Regions from separate parts of the Homo sapiens genome. Here regions 2, 3 and 4 are each linked to region 1. Evidence: promoter capture Hi-C in 16 types of primary human blood cells and fetal thymus (Javierre and others, 2016). All regions are on one chromosome and are shown on one strand. The core of a region is centred on a gene start or on the middle of the fragment in contact, and the rest is flanking DNA. Distances in the headings are between cores, read along the strand shown. Region 1 holds the start of FNIP2 (folliculin interacting protein 2). Region 2 holds the start of SPMIP2 (sperm microtubule inner protein 2). Region 3 overlaps RAPGEF2 (Rap guanine nucleotide exchange factor 2). Region 4 has its middle 17 kb from the start of SPMIP2.

What was found. The method cuts DNA at HindIII sites, captures the fragments that hold promoters and counts their contacts. A CHiCAGO score of 5 or more calls a contact.
Region 2: a fragment that was not itself captured here is called in contact with the fragment with the promoter of FNIP2 in region 1 in 1 of 17 cell types (naive CD4 T cells); the score reaches 5.0 in naive CD4 T cells.
Region 3: a contact is called between a fragment that was not itself captured here and the fragment with the promoter of FNIP2 in region 1, in 1 of 17 cell types (total CD8 T cells). The highest score is 8.6, in total CD8 T cells.
Region 4: a fragment that was not itself captured here is called in contact with the fragment with the promoter of FNIP2 in region 1 in 2 of 17 cell types (non-activated CD4 T cells and total B cells); the score reaches 5.3 in non-activated CD4 T cells.

The regions. Positions count from the first base shown.
Region 1 is chr4:158,766,651-158,770,489 of GRCh38, reverse strand. It overlaps FNIP2 (folliculin interacting protein 2), which reads right to left and starts at 1,464. Exons shown (of 17, transcript NM_020840.3): 1 at 1,171-1,464. The coding sequence starts at 1,277. RefSeq lists an enhancer at 819-1,556 and a silencer at 1,514-1,723. The HindIII fragment of the contact is 6,862 bases long and covers 1-3,839 here.
Region 2 is chr4:159,030,871-159,035,374 of GRCh38, reverse strand. SPMIP2 (sperm microtubule inner protein 2) reads left to right here and starts at 146. Exons shown (of 5, transcript NM_152543.3): 1 at 146-342. The coding sequence starts at 279. The HindIII fragment of the contact is 2,092 bases long and covers 1,001-3,092 here.
Region 3 is chr4:159,131,257-159,135,331 of GRCh38, reverse strand. All of the region lies in intron 1 of RAPGEF2 (Rap guanine nucleotide exchange factor 2), which reads right to left. Among named protein-coding and RNA genes, the nearest start is that of MIR3688-1, 4.4 kb to the right of the region's middle. The HindIII fragment of the contact is 3,344 bases long and covers 1,058-4,075 here.
Region 4 is chr4:159,049,802-159,053,865 of GRCh38, reverse strand. It overlaps a transcript of SPMIP2 not described here. Among named protein-coding and RNA genes, the nearest start is that of SPMIP2, 17 kb to the right of the region's middle. The HindIII fragment of the contact is 5,133 bases long and covers 1-3,910 here.

The sequences.
Region 1 (3,839 bases), core at 215-2,714:
ATCTAGAACATAAAACTTAATCCAGAATTTATTTCAAAGTTTCACTTGAAACTTTTAAAGGTTTATTATACTGGGTCTAGATCTGTTTAACAGTGAACTGTTTTTGCAAGACATTTTGGCCAAAAAGCACCTAGCATAGTGTCAGAATTGGGAGTTGGTGCTCAATTTTAAAATGTGTTGAAAAATTGTTAAATAAACTTCTCAACATACCTGTGCTCAAAGGCAATATAGGACATTTTAAGGCGTCTTTTAAAAGTTAGCCCTTGAAATCAGAATAGCATAGGGATTTTAAAGACTGGAATCTGTGGTCAAACTGCTTGGGTCAAAACACAGGCTCTACCACTGACAGCTGGATTTTGGGCAAGCCGCCTAAGTTATCTGTGACTTTAAGTTTCCTCACCTGTAAAATGGGAATTATAATAGCACCCACCTCACCGCATTGTCAGAAAAGTAAACGACAGAAATCAACATAAAGCATTTTAGGTAGTAAGCTCTCCATAAATGCTATCAATATTCAAAGGTATGTGTTCGAGAGATCAAATCTATTAAATATACATATCAGCTTTGATCAATTGAAATCTCGGAAATTTCATAATTGCATCTTACTCCCCCTTTCCACACATCATGCGGCATCAACCTTCCACATGATGTGGAAATTACATACTTTCATTCATCCGTTTGAGAGCTTGTCATATATGGCAAGAAAGAAGAAAGATGCCTTTTTCGTGACTGTTGCTCCTTCAGAACTTCAAAACACTGTCACGTACACAATAGGTTGGAGCTGCCCTCAAAATGACAGCTCACAGCTTTGCTGGGCCCGCAGAGGTGCCCAGGCGGCTCTGCCCGGAAGGGGTTCACCCCAATAACCGGAGAATCTCCGGTCGCCACAGCCAAGCACAGCGCACGCCCGGGAACCCCAAGGAACACAAGAGAACTCTGAAATGGGGAAGGACCCTGAGTTGTGGAGAAAGAGCGGGAGGAAGGGTCACGGAGGGTCCGGAGCCACACTCGGATCAGGCGCGTCCACGCTGACAAGCCCGGGACCAGGTGCCGGCGATAGGCAGCGCCGTCCTGGACAGTCCCTTCCCTTTCCCCTACCCGTCCCCTCCCCGGCGAGCACCGAAGCCAACTCGGGTCCCGCGCCAGAATTGCCCCCCGGCGCCCCCTCACCTAAAGGCGGGTCCTTCCTTAGGAGCCCTGCCCTGGGCAGACGCCGCCGCGGAGCTGCCGCTGCTGCCCCTTTTGTTGAAGAGCTTCTGGAGCAGGGTCGGGGCCATGATGCCGCCGCCGCAGCTCCGGCCGTGGCGCTCGGGGGGCCGGCGGCTCAGCGCGCAGCCGGGGGCGGCGGCCGCGGTGGCGGGGCCATCGCGGCGGCGCGGCCGCCCAGCCTTGCGGGAGCGCGGGGCCGCTGCGACTGAGTAACTCTGCTCGGCGCCGGAGCCGCCGGCTGCCGGTCATATGACTGAGCCGGCCCGCCACCGCCTCGCGCGCTGACAGTTATCTCCTGCGGGAGGAGCCCGCAGCCCCACGGCGGCGGCGGCGGCGCGGGAGGAGCGCGGCGGCCCCGGCGGCGGCCATTGGCCCGGCGGCCGCCCGCCCCGGGCTCACGTAACCCCGGCGGGAGGCGGGAGGTGGGAGGTGCGGCCAGGAGCGGGCGGGCGGCCCAGTACTCCGGGCACGCGGGGGACGCGGACGGGGGCAGGCGCGGCACTTAAAGGGGCCCGAGGGGCGAGGGCGGCCGCCGGGGCGCAGCTCCGCGAGTGGCGTGGGGTTCCCACGGAGCCTGGGTTCTTTCGCACAGCGAGCATGCAGCTAGGCCGATCTTTGTTCTTTAGAGACAAAGCCCCTGAACTTGGGTCCTCGCTTTGTTCAGGTACAAGAGCCCGTTCACAGAAGGCGTATGCTAGGGGGGAAGGCTTGGTACGCGCGGTGGCCGCTTCGGTGGGCTGTGATTTGAATCACATAGCACCCAAGGTTTTGTCAGGTTTCCTCCATGTCCAAATTCGATTCCTCCAGGCTTTCACAAAATTTAAACTGTTTATCCAAATCATTTGTTCTGTTTGGCGTCTTGGGCCACCATACCATGGTTATATAAGAAGTTGCATTTGAAATATTAAGTCCCCCCTTTAAAACATACACACACACACACACACACACACACACACACACACACAGAACTCACTACATAGATTTAGAAACTTAAGATATTTTATAGCAAGGGATTGTTTTTCCTAATACATATTTAACAGTCAATCAAGGCATATCAGCAGCAGATATTTGGTTTGAGGAAGGGAGGAGTTCATGTGTTTGAGTCCGCTTTCCTGCCCTGTCCCACCCCAGTCCCCTTTGGAATTTAATCCTTGGTGGTGCAGGGCTCTAAACAGCCAGTGTAGGACACGTTACCAGACTCAAAGCAACTTCTTAATCTATGTTTTAGAGCGTTGGGCTTCACGAATTTTTCCGATGATGGGAAATAGAGATAAAGTTAGTAAGACCCCAACCATGCCTCTTCTAGCTTCTCCATGAGTAGTGAACAGTGACTCACCTGGGCTCTCTTACACTTGTTGAGAGGAGGACTCTTGGAGACTCAAAAAGGAAAATATATTTCCAAAAACATAAGTAATCAAAAGAACCTATTCTGGGCCTATTTTACTTTGCATTTTCTTTTTTTAATTGTGTTAGTTTCTGGACTTGGTTGGGAACTAGCTGTGAATAATGTGCTGAAATTTCACAAAGGTAAGAGAAAGGTGGTAGAAATGGAAACTTAGTCATTTGTTTCCTTCGGACTTTTACTGTTAAAATGGTGGATTAAGTGTTTATCCTGATGAGCAATCATCCTTTTGCACAATTGAGTGTACACAGAACCCTAATTTGCAACTTTGCTATTTCTGTTTGCTGAAGGCCTTTACCTCATAGGGCTGCCAGTGTTGGTCAGGATGCTATATAGAAGGTATTGGCTTTATACGTTGTGACTTTCAGATACAGTCCCAGGTCATACTGTGGCCAGCAACTCACCACCTTTCCTTACTCCATCCTTGGTCAGAAAATGTCCTTTATTCTCCAGACTAAAATCTGCATGTTCCTCATGAGCCTAGCAGCTTTTGTAACTGCATATAGAAGAGGAATTTGACATATTGTGCCTCATTCCTCACTTCCTAGGACTCTTTCAGTTCCAACCCAGTCCAAATAGACAAGATCATCCAAAAGAGGCAATTAAAAAATCATAACCTGCTCTAGCCATCATCTTCAATTTTGGTTTTGACTAGGCAACTATAAAGGAAGAGTGTGTATTTTAAACTATTAAAGCCAGGACTTCAGTTAAAGGAGACAAAAGGAACCAAAATGCTTCCCTTCTCCCCTCTTTCTCCCTGTGCTTCCTCTCAGCATCACATTCTTCCTCATCCTGGTTCTGGCCACACCTCCTCCTTTGGATTTTTAAAGTATACAAAAATCCTAGCCAAAAAAGTTCTGGGAGACAGCTCTAGCCAGCTCTCCCAGTCTTCTTGTTTTTTATTTTTATTTTATTTTATTGGCTACTCAAGGCCGCTACAAAAATCCAATCTTTTGCCCATCATCCATTGGTCATTGCCTGGTCCCTGAGGCTTGTCATAATCTCAGTCTCCAACACTGGTCACGTGGCCCATCGCCCAGTTCCATACATCTCCTTTATTCACCTCTTCCCACTCACCCTATCTTGGAAAATATACCAGCTGGCTGTTCTTGTACGCAGCTGTCAAGAGGAGCAGGGAATAAGACAATATCCTGAATGCTTGGAGATGACAGAACAACACTAAAATGGGAAAGGGGAAGTTGTAAAGGGCTGACTTACTTAGTCCGGT
Region 2 (4,504 bases), core at 797-3,296, 260 kb before region 1:
TTCTGACTTGATATTGACAAATAAGGAAAAGTTATTACTGGATGCAAGTTCTGGGAAGACTATAGCAGTATCTGTCTCTGCTCTTGGAGATTGGAATGCAGAACTCTGCAAGGAGGAACATTCTATCTCCCTGTCATAAAGAGTCATTAGCAACCACCTGGTGCAGGTCACAAGCAGGGAGAGGAAAGACTGCAGAGTCTTTCGTTCTTTCTGGTGCAGCTTAACTGATTTGAAGAAGCCGAAGAAGAAAATCCAGTAGCACGGTTAAGACTTTAGCCATGGCATCTGTATCATACCAAAAGCCAACATCTACTACTGTGGGAAAACAAATGATTTTTACAGGTAAATAGTTTTTGTGTTTGCTTTCACAAGGAGATCTAAATTTGCTTTTTCTCTCACATATATGATTTTTATATAATGGATATAACAATGCAATGATCACATATGTTTTTTGTTTTTGTTTGTTTTTTGGGTTTTTTTTTTTGAGACAGAGTCTCGCTCTGTCGCCCAGGCTAGAGTACAATGGCGCGATCTCGGCTCACTGCAACCTCCGCCACCTGGGTTCAAGAGATTCTCCAGCCTCAGCTTCCTGAGTAGCTGGGATTACAGGCATCTGCCATCATGCCCAGCTAATTTTTGTATTTTTGTAAAGATGAGGGTTTCACCATGTTGGCCAGGCTGGCCTTGAACTCCTGACCTCAGGTGATCTGCCTGCATAGGCCTCCCAAAGTGCTGGGATTACAGGCATCAGCCACCATGCCCAACCCACCTACATTTAATTTACATGATACTGCTATCTCATTATGCCCACTCAGTCTGATCATCATCATCTTGTTGCCATAAACATGTCTTTAACACAGCAGTTGTCACTATATCTGAGGTAACTTTCACAAAGGAATATTTGAATTAGCATAGCTTTTATGGTTTGTGCAAGAGAAACTTCTTTGATGTAATAAAAAACATACTTTTCATCGAATTTTTATTAACACTGATTTAAGCTTCTCATAACATTATAAACTTGACATATTTGCTTGATAAAAATTTGAGCAGGATATGCATTAAACCTAGTAAAGTGATTGGTTTGAGTTTTGTTCATTCAGCTTACTTTAAATGATTTGGGCAGTGTGTGTGAAATTATAATAATATCTAAAAAATAGAAGATGACTAGTTGTGGTAAGTCTATAAGGCATAAACTAAACTTCATTTTATTTCCTTTTTTTCCAAATTATTTATTTTTTGAGACAGAGTCTCGCCCTGTTGCCCAGACTAGGGTGCAATGGCACGATCTGGGCTCTCTGCACCCTCCACCTCCCAGGTTCAAGTGTTTCTCCTGCCTCAGTCTCCCGAGTAGCTAGGACTATAGGCACATGCCACCACATGTGGTTGTTTATTTATTTATTTATTTTGTACTTTTAGTAGAAATGGGGTTTCACCATGTTGGCTAGGCTGGTCTCGAACTCCTGACCTCAAGTGATCCACCCACCTGTGTCGGGATTCCAGGCGTGAACCTGGCCTTTTTTTCTTTTTTTCCAAAGTGTGAGCATATTTTACAATGTTACAGAAAAATAATCAAATGCATATTTATGGTGGGCATTTATGATTTGTGTTGCTCATCATCCATCTCATCCACTCCCCTTCTTGTGACTCACTTGGCTTTGGGAAAAACATCTCTTTCCTCACTCTTACCTCTTTTTTACTCCTGTGAGAAGGACTTTGTCAACAAGAGTACACTGCTTATCTGCAATTCCTTTTGCCTTTATTCTTATAAACTCTATTCATTTCCAAAGTTACTTAAGTCTGCACATTTTCTTTCTAGCCTCTTCAGTAAGGTTGTTTTATGCACTTGTAATACAGTTAGATTTTCTTGTCACAGTCTGAATTCCTTCCTGAAATCCTACAATCTCGTAAATAATTTTTTTTAATTTGCATCCATTAAGGTTTGCTTTTTATGCTATTAAATATATGGGGGTCTTGACAAATTAATAGGACCATGTATTCACCATTATAGTACCATACGTTATGGTTTCACCACTTAAAAAATCTCTTGTGCTTCACCTATTCATTCCCCCCTCCCCCTTTCCCCCTAGCTCCTGGCAACCACTGATCTTTTCACTGTCTCCACAGTTTTGCCTTTTCTTGAATGTCACAGAGCTGGAGTTATACAGTATGTAGTCTTTTCAGATTGGCTTCATTTCCTCATCAATATCATTTTAAGGCTTCTCCACATCTTTTCATGGTTTGATAGCTTATTTCTTTTTACCACTGAATAATATTTCACTGTGTGGATGTGTCACAATTTGTTCATCCCTTCCCCTATCGAAAGACATCTTGGTGGCTTCCAGTTTTTGGCAATTGTGAGAAATGCTTCTATGTACATTTATGTGCAGCCTTTTGCATGGATATGTTTTCAAATCAATTTGGTAAATACCTAGGAGAGTAATTGCTGGATCCTGTGTTAAGCCAAACTGTCTTCTAAACTAGCTATACTATTTTGCATGTCCATCAGCAATGAATGAGAGTCCTTGTTGCTTTGTGTCCTTGTCAGCCTTTGGTATTGTCTGTTTTTGACTTTTTTACCAAAAAAAAAAAAAAAGAAAGGTCATTTAGATTTTTATCCTGTGTTTTCTTTTAGACATTTTACAATGTTACGTTTTCATTTAGGTCTATAATCTATTTTGAAGAGATTTTTGTGCCTTTTAAAGTTTTAATTTTCATCAGCCAATAAATCTCCTCTTTTCCTTAGCCAGTTTGGGTTGGGTTTTCTGTCATTTGGAACTGTGCAAGAGTCTTAATTAACACTTAAAATTTCTTCTAACTTACACCAGTGTATATACTTAGTTTTATGTATTTACATAGTTCAAATTGTTGTCACCTTTGATAGATTTCTGCCTTTCATTATACTGACATATAATACTTAGCTTCACAGCCTCCTGTATTTTATAATTTCCTAATTTTTACTGTTACAAATTTGTATGAATACTTTGCATAAATTATTTTTCTTGTTCTCTTATTTTCATGTGGTATATATAGAGAGAGCAGAATTAGCAGGTGAAAGATACAAACAGATATATAACTTATTAATGCCACAAGCTTTAGAGAATTGTATATACTATGAACAATGTATACGTATTTAAAGCCCAACAATTTTTTTTTTTGAGACAGTCTCCCTCTGTTGCTCAGGCTGGAGTGCAGTGGTATGATCTCAGCTCACTGCAGTCTCTCCCTCCAGGGTTCAAGTGATTCTCGTGCCTCAGCCTCCTAAGTAGCTGGAATTACAGACGTGAGCCACCATGCCCACTAATTTTTTGTATTTTTAGTAGAGATGGGGTTTCACCATGTTGGCCAGGCTGGTCTCAAACTCCTGACCTCCGGTGATCTGCCCGCCTCAGCCTCCCAAAGTGCTGGGATTACAGGCATGAGCCACCACAACCGGCCCCCATCAATATTTTTTAAAATCATTTTTATTACTTCAAAGAAGTAGATATGAATCCTTTTTTGCTTTTGCCTTTTACAAATTTTATTGTGACTATTTTAAAACACACGCCAATGAACTCCCACTTACCTGTCACCCATATTCAACATTTATCAAAATTTTGCCACATTTGACTCACATCTCTCGTATTTTTCTTGTAAAAATATTTTAAGCCCAGATATCATATTATTTCACTTACATATTTTATTGTGCATCTGAAAAAATATGAACATATTCTTACATAGTCACATTGCCGTGACTGCACCTAACAAAATTAATAACTATCATTTGGCATCATGTAATTAACAACTCCATAACAAAATTTTCCTGATTGTCTCTAAAATGTATTTTTACAGTTGATTTTGAGAATAAGGATCCAACACACATTGCATTCAGTTGTGTTTTCTCTTTTTGTCTATTTTAAACTGGTGCAGTCTTCCCTTCTTTTTTCCCTGCCATTTACTTGTTGCAGAAACTGGATCAGTTATGCAGCAGAAATGTCCAACGTTCCGAATTTGTCAATTACTTCCTTCTCATATCATTTAACTTGTTCCTTTATTCTCTGTAAACTGAATTTGGCTCTAGAGGCTTGATTATAGCCAAGTTCAACTCTTTAGGGATGCTTATGTCTTAGATGGTACTGCAGTCAGTTCACAGAAATCAAACTTTTGAGCTGTTCAAGAATAATAATTTTAACTCCTATAAGGCCCATCACTTACCACCTTTCTAACCTATTGGAGCTTGGAGCTCTTTCCTCCATGTTTGGAACTGTTTTTAATATAAAGTCCGTGTTTTCATAAAAACATTAGTTTAAGTGAAGTACCCAGGCTAGGCAAACAAAAGATTGATTTAATCCATGCAAATATTGTGTAATTGTGATAAAAACAAGAAAAATATCTTGTCACTATTAATAATTAATATGACAACAAAATATCATGAGAAATCATTTAGAAATTATTTTGGATGTCAATAATGTAAAAAAAACCATGTAGAGGATGAGAAAATACTGAGGAATTTCGCAGCAATTCTGAG
Region 3 (4,075 bases), core at 1,480-3,979, 360 kb before region 1:
ACTTACGCCTGTAATCCCAGCACTTTGGGAGGCTGAGGTGGGCGGACTGCTTGAGCCCAGAAGTTCGAGACGAGCTTGGGCAACATGGTGAAACACCATCTCTACAAAAAAAATATAAAAATTAGCTGGGCATGGTGGCACACACCTATAGTACCAGCTACTCAGGAGGCTGAAACAGGAGAATCACTTGAGCCTGGAAGATCAAGGCTGCAGTGAGCCATAATCACACCACTGCACTCCAGCCTGGGCAACGGAGTGAGACTCCTGTCTCAAAAACAAAAGGAAAAAAAATTAAAGAAATGAACTGCTGATACATGCTACAACATGGATGAATCTTGAAAACATTATGCTAAATGAAAGAAGCCAGTCCCAAAGACCACATATAAACTATTTACATGAAATGTCCAGAATAGGAAAACACATAGACAGACAGTAAACTGGTAGTTGCTTAGGACAGAAGGGATAGAGGATGAGGGTACAGGAATTTTCTTTTTGAGGTTGATAAAATGTCCTAAAGTTGACTCTGGTGATGGCTGCATATATCTAGGAATTTACTAAAAACCACTGATTATATACTTTAAATGGGTGAATTGTATGGTATGTGAATTATATCTCAATAAAGTTGTTTCTAAATTACAGAATTAAATACCATCACATGCCCATAAGATGACTTACAAAATAAAACTGACACGTGTAAGTGCTGACGAGGATGCAGAACTGAAACTTTTGTACATTGCTGGCAGAAATAAAATACAATATAGCTGCTTTGGGAAGGAGTTTGTTAGTTTTTCAAAAAGTTAAACATACACTTATCATATATCCTAACAATCTCACATTTAAGTATCTATCAAGAAGGGGAAAACATGTGTCCATATTAATATGTGAACATTTATAGCAGCTTCATTCATCACTGCCAAAAACTAGAGGCAACCTAAATATTCATCACTTGGAGAAAGAATAAACAAATTTCAGTACATCCATACAATGAAATACTATTCAGCAATAAAAAGAAGCAAACCATTGATACATACAACACTATGGCTGAATCTCAAAAGCTTGTGCTTAGTGAAAAAAGTCATGCAAAAAAGACTGTACACTATATGACTCCATGTACAGTACAAGACATTCTTAAAAAGGCAAAACTATAAGGATAGAAATCAGATCACTGGTTGCCAGAGACAGGCTAGACGGAGAGGACTGCCTACAAAAAGGCACAAAGGCACAAGGGACCTTTTCTGGGCAATGAAAATGTCTTAATTTTGATTGCAGTTGCAGTGGTGACATGACTGTATACAAATTAAAACTCACAGAATTGCCAGGCGTGGTGGCTCACACCTGTAATCCTGGCACTTTGGGAGGTCCAGGCGGGTGGATCACTTGAGGTCAGGAGTTCAAGACCAGCCTGGCCAACATGGTGAAACCCCATCACTATTAAAAATACAAAAAATTGGCCAGGCGCGGTGGCTCACGCCTGTAATCCCAGGACTTTGGGAGGCCGAGGCGGGCGGATCACAAGGTCAGGAGATCGAGACCATCCTGGCTAACACGGTGAAACCCCGTCTCTACTAAAAATACAAAAAATTAGCTGGGCGTGGTGGCAGGCACCTGTAGTCCCAGCTACTCGGGAGGCTGAGGCAGGAGAATGGCATGAACCCGGGAGGTGGAGCTTGCAGTGAGCCGAGATCATGCCACTGCACTCCAGCATGGGTGACAGAGCCAGACTCCGAAAAATAAATAAATAATATACAAAAAAGTAGCCACGCGTGGTGGCAGGCGCCCGTAATCCCAGCTACTCGGGAGGCTGAGGCAGGAGAACTGCTTGAACCTGGGAGGTGGAGGGTGCAGTGAGCTGAGATCGCACCACTACACTCCAGCCTGGGAACAAGAGCAAAACTCTGAAAAAAAAAAAAAATTCATACAACTTTACACTTAAAAAGGTTAATCTTACCATATATATTACAAGTTTATATTTTAAAAATAAAGGAAAAGAAATGCACTAATACAATGCTAGTAGTCCTGTAAGCCACTTCTACAACAACAAGCAAAATTAGAAATGCAAGCACACTTTGGCCCAGCAGAAATTTTGCAGGTCAGGTATGTGAGGGGTATTCATTGCAGCCCTGTGATATTCTGTAATGGTTAATCACACACACAGGAGCTCTTCATGTACTGATATGGAAAGATCAGTATACATCTTTCCAAACTATACTTTACATTAAATAAATAAAAGGGCAGATATGTATGTAGATATAACTTGAGAAGAAGAAAAATATGTTTTTATGGATCTGTGTATGAATTTTTTTAATTTTTGGGAAGAATAAACAAGCAATGAAAATCACTCACTACCAGAAGGGAACTGGGAGTTAGGCAGGTGTGGGAGAGGAAAGTAAGACTGCACTGTATAACTTTTTATACTTTTTGACATGTGAACTATGCAAAAAAAAAAAAACTAAGTATATAATATTTAAAATATTAATTTAGGTACAAGTTATAAACATTTCTAGAACACTAAAAACATTCCAGAAAGAAAAAACATTATCATATACACTTAAAACGCACATAACTTTCAACTACCAAAAGAAAATGAGCAATCAACGTAAAAGACTGTATTTAACCTTTCTTTCTGACCCACCACCCACAAAAATGAAGAAAATAAGGAGTGTGAGAAATAGACAACAAAGAATGGTTTGGAAGAAAAAGCTATAATTTAGAAAAAGGAGGCATAAATGAGAAAAGTCAGATTTTAAAAAGCCAACAACTTGCCACGCCTTTAAAAACCATCTACCTCTTTCTGTCCTGGAGTACGGTGCTCATCTATCCCTAAAGGAGAGACAGCCCTTTCTATGTCTTGTAAGGACCAAAGAGAAACAAACAAGACTCCTTGCCACAGACACAAGGAGACACTGTCCTCTACAACCAAAGGACTCAAAAACATCATTTAAACACAGATACACACACCCATCACAACCATAGGATCTGGATGGATTATTTTAGAATTTCGGAAGAACTTAAGTCTCCTTGAGAGCCCACATTCCAAAATCTAGCAAAGTAACTCTTTCATTCTGCAGTTGAGACTGTGAAGTACGATCATAAAATGGTGTTAGAGCTAGATAACCTGAAGATAACGTACTTCTGTGCAAGACACAGGCTTATGAATATATCTGAATAAATGTTTCTCAATTCTTGATAAATTCTAGACCAACTAGCCCCTCTCTAAATAGTGTGGTCCAATAACAAAGTTCACCCTCAAGCTAAGACATTATCCTAATGGCAACAGTTAGATAAGCAAAAACACCGGGAATATTTTACTCTCCAACTTGATAGTTTCAAACAATATACCCATTAAAATCTGGACTTTTGTTGCAAGTATCCAGATTTGAATCTGGATCCTCTTGGTAAGGAGACTGTAACTTCCCACACATTTCCTCTGGCTTTTTCAGTTAGCATAGAGAACCAAAGTTCCCACCTATGGCCCTACAAAGAAAGGCTAAGTATTAACAAAGTAATTCTATGTTAAAACTTCTTAAGGAATGGAAATATCGAGTATGCCAAGTCTTTGTTTCTGACAAACAAGGAGATGCCGGGCTGTAGGACTGCTGAGAAAACCCGATAACTTTCCCAAGTACACAACAACGCGAAAGACGTTAATCAAGCCCAAAGTTCTCTAGCCCAAGGTTCCCAAAGCCCAAAGAACTTTAACTGCACTTAGCACTTATATTTCTCTTCAACTAGTAAAAACTCCAAATAGTATAGCTGACTGAACAAAAACAACAACAGCAAAAGCTAAAAAAAAAAAAAAAAAAAAAAAAAAATAGCAATTAATCAGACAAAGATATCAAGATAATACATTTAAGTCTTTAACATAGTATCTGCTGACAAAATCAGCAATCAATCAATCTTAAACGTTATTAAAACCATGCGAGGCTGGGCGCGGTGGCTCATGCCTGTAATCCCAGCACTTTGGGAGGCCAAGATAGGCGGATCACCTGAGGTTGGGAGTTCGAGACCAGCCTGACCAACATGGAGAAACCCTGTCTCTACTAAAAATACACAATTAGCTGGGTGTGGTGGCATA
Region 4 (4,064 bases), core at 95-2,594, 280 kb before region 1:
CCTCCCACCTCAGCCTCCCAAAGTGCTGAGATTACAGGTATGAACCACTGTGCTCAGTCTTGGATTTGTTTCTAATTGAAGGAAAGAAAGAAAAAGAAGAGGAAAGAAAGAAGAGGAAGGAAGGAGGGAGGGAGGAAGAAAAGAAGGAAGGGAAATCTCTGCCAACCTTATACCACCCATGGATTCAGTCTGCTTAGAATGGCTCCTACAGAATGGACTAGTAAGGTCCATATCTCCCAGGAATGACTTAAAATGATGGGGTGGTAGAAGGGAACTCAGAAACAAAACACACATTGAGTTTTCAGAAGGCACCAAAAGATCCTGGAAGAGACCTAAAATAGGAAGGCACGGGCTAGGGGAAACTAAGAATGTGAGGTGTGGGGTTCATGGCTAGGGGACCCTACCGGCCCACAGCCATCCTTGTATTCTCCTAGGTGTAACTCAACCTAGGTGCATTTGTAACTCAATATATTACCCATCCGTGTATGCTTGTATTTTAAAAGGGGGAGCATCAAGTAGATACCATTTAACCCAAAAGAATGAACCCAGAAAAACTAGCAGCCATGTAGTCGATACTGTCACTCAAATCATATTTTAAAAAATAATAGTCGGCCGGGCGCGGTGGCTCACGCCTGTAATCCCAGCACTTTGGGAGGCCGAGGCGGGCGGATCACGAGGTCAGGAGATCGAGACCATCCCGGCTAAAACGGTGAAACCCCGTCTCTACTAAAAATACAAAAAATTAGCCGGGCGTAGTGGCGGGCGCCTGTAGTCCCAGCTACTTGGGAGGCTGAGGCAGGAGAATGGCGTGAACCCGGGAGGCGGAGCTTGCAGTGAGCCGAGATCCCGCCACTGCACTCCAGCCTGGGCGACAGAGCGAGACTCCGTCTCAAAAAAAAAAAAAAAAAAATAATAATAATAATAATAGTCGACCAGGCGTAGTGGCTCACATCTGTAATCCCAGCACTTTGGGTGGCTGAGGTAGGCAGATCACCTAAGGTCAGGAGTTCAAGACCAGCCTGGCCAACATGGAGAAACCCCCGTCTCTACTAAAAATACAAAAAATTAGCCAGGCGTGGTGGCAGGCGCCTGTAATTCCAGCTACTCAGGAGGCTGAGGCAGGAGAATGGCTTGAACCTGGAAGGCAGAGGTTGCAGTGAGCCGAGATCGCACCATTGCACTCCAGCCTAGGCAACAAGAGCAAAACTCCGCCTCAAATAATAATAATAATAAAATAATAATAATAATAATAATAGTCTTGAGATAATCCCATGGGGACAGATAGCAGCATCACTACCCCATCTACGGAAGAGAAGATGGAGCCTCAGGGGAATCAAGTTCCAACCACAAAACTTCTCACTGTTTCAGTCGGCTTTACCCTGCACAACTGGCTAGTTGCAGAGTTTGTGGCATCTGAGCAGATAAATCTTTTTTACCGTGTGCAGGGGTTGTGTTGGTTGTTGGTTGCTGGTTGTTGTTGTTGTTGTTGTTGTTTTCAGGGTCTACTTAACTCATGGAGCATGGGACACTCTGCTGTAGCTGATTGTTACCATGCAGGAATGTAGGTCCAGGTCTTCCAATTTTTTAAGAGAATTTGGACATTTCTATTAGCACACAAGGCCTGATATTTTGATATTGGTTCATCTGGAAAAAAAAGAAATCAAAACATTGTGCGAACTAGGTACACTGGCCGTCAGTGTGAGACGTCTGCTTTAGCTCTATGTACTTGGCCTGGAGAACTCATCTCTTTTGTCTGCTTCCCTCCATCCGAATCATTTGCACTTTCTGGGGGGAATCTTGCAAATGAAAGATGGCAAGGGAAATTTGGTTTTTGTTTTTGTTTTTTTTTTAGCATCCAGAATTCCAGTGAGCTTGATAGTAGGTAGCTGGAGGGTGTGGGGGCAGGGCAAGGAAGAGCAAGGAAGGAGGGGGAGATGCCTGTGAAGGAGAGGAAATGAAAGCGCAGGAGCTGACAGCACTCTTAGTAAATATTAAACAGTAATGAAACAAAGAGTAATAGGCCACAGAAACTGCGATAAGAATGCCAGTCGTTTACTATATTTCAGCACGCAGCTGGGTACCAGAGCTTAACACATCTCTTCTGACATTGCAGACAGTTTCACTATGCTAGGAGCAAAAACCTGAGTAATAAATAAAAAGCAAATGTGTTTGCTATTGAAGAAATAAATGAATGGTAGAATGAGAATGACAAAAGAATGAAAGAGAGAAATTCTATTTCCATCATTCTAAATAGATGTTACATCTCATGACAGATAAGAGTTCATTAATTAGCAGCAAGAGATTTTGGAAATAACCATAGTATAAATGGTCTCTGCTTTGCATTTGGTAATGAAAGTGCTTTGAATGTGACGCTTTAGTAATTCAGACACAATATTTCTTAGTTTCTATTGTGTACGAAGTACCAGGCACTGTGGGGAGAGGCATGGGAAATGGTGGGTGTAATCCTTTCTTCTGAGCAGTTTACAGTCTGGTGGTATTAGATTTTCAAGAAGGACGAAGCTCCCCCCAAAAGTCCATGTGAAATCTTAAGCAGTTTCAAGCAATAAAAAAGCTATGTGCTAGATACCTTTTCCAGAAAACATATCACTTTGCATTCATCTGAACATAATTCAAACCACATTTACCAAAACTCTGGTTACTCTGTTATACAGCCACTTTGCTTTTATGTTTCTGTAAGAAAATGCAAAGAATAGCACTTTTTTGGAAACATCTTTAAGATTTTTTTTTTTTTTTTCTGAGACGGAGTCTTTCCCTCTGTCCCCCAGGCTGGAGTGCAGTGGCGCGATCTTGGCTCACTGCAACCTCTGCCTCCTGGGTTCAGGTGATTCTCCTGCCTCAGCCTCCTGAGTAGCTGAGACTACAGGCACCCGCCACCATGTCTGGCTAATTTTTGTATTTTTAGTAGAGATGGGGTTTCACCATGTTGGCCAGGATGGTCTCGATTTCCTGACCTGATGATCCACCTGGCTCAGCCTCCCAAAATGCTAGGATTACAGGCGTGAACCACGGCGCCTGGCCAAGATTTTTTTTTATAGCTTTTTTTTTTTAACGGATGAGTTCTTGCTCTGTCACCCAAGTTAGCATGTAGTGTTATAATCATAACTCACTGCAGCCTTGAACTCCTGGGTTCAAGTGATCCACTCACCTCAGCCTCCTGGGTAGCTTGTGACTACAGGCACACACCATGGCTAATTTTTTATGTTTTGTAGAGATGGGGTTTAGCCATGTTGCCCAGGCTGGTCTCGAACTCCTGGGTTCAAGCAATCCTCCTGCTTCAGCCTCATAAAGTGCTGGGATTACACGTGTGAGCCATCATGCCTGGCTATCTTAACATTTTAAACAATAAAATGCTGTTTACATTTATCCAATCTTAAGGCTCTCTGAGTCTGGGCTGTTACTGGATATGGTGATCCTTACTCCTAACCCATCCCCCTTTCTTCCCCCTCCCTTCTTTTTATATTATACTCACACTATCATGAATTGCAGACATATTTATTAAAAATGCTATCACACCTCCCTTTCCATTCTTTTCCCTTTCAATACAGCAGGCCTGTCCTCAAGTTAGGGAGTCACACCTGTCCACTTCTCAAGCCTGACAGTAGTTATCAGGAAGCACATTTCAAAAAAAAAAAAAAAAAAATACAGTGGTGGCAGTACCACCCAGTGAGAAGAATGAATTCCAAATGCTGTCAAAATAAAGACTGGTTTGATTAATGCCAGCATTCACTTTATTTTCATGGCTTCCCCTGCAGGGTCAAAAAGAGCAGCCCAGGGCCAGAGAATATGTGTTGACACTAACGGGCACCTTTTAGCAATGCACATTTTTAAAAGTAACGTCTAAGTTACTTGACATGTTATCAAGAGATTGCCTTATATCTATCAAGAAGCTTTAAGGCTCATTTTCTACCAAGACATCTCCAGTACCAAATTTTTTTCTCTCTTCTGTGACAGCTACAATATCAGTGATGTAATGCAGTATATATTTGAGCTCTCTATGACATCTGTGGAAGTCAAACCCTATTTTCCAGACAGACACAAAAATC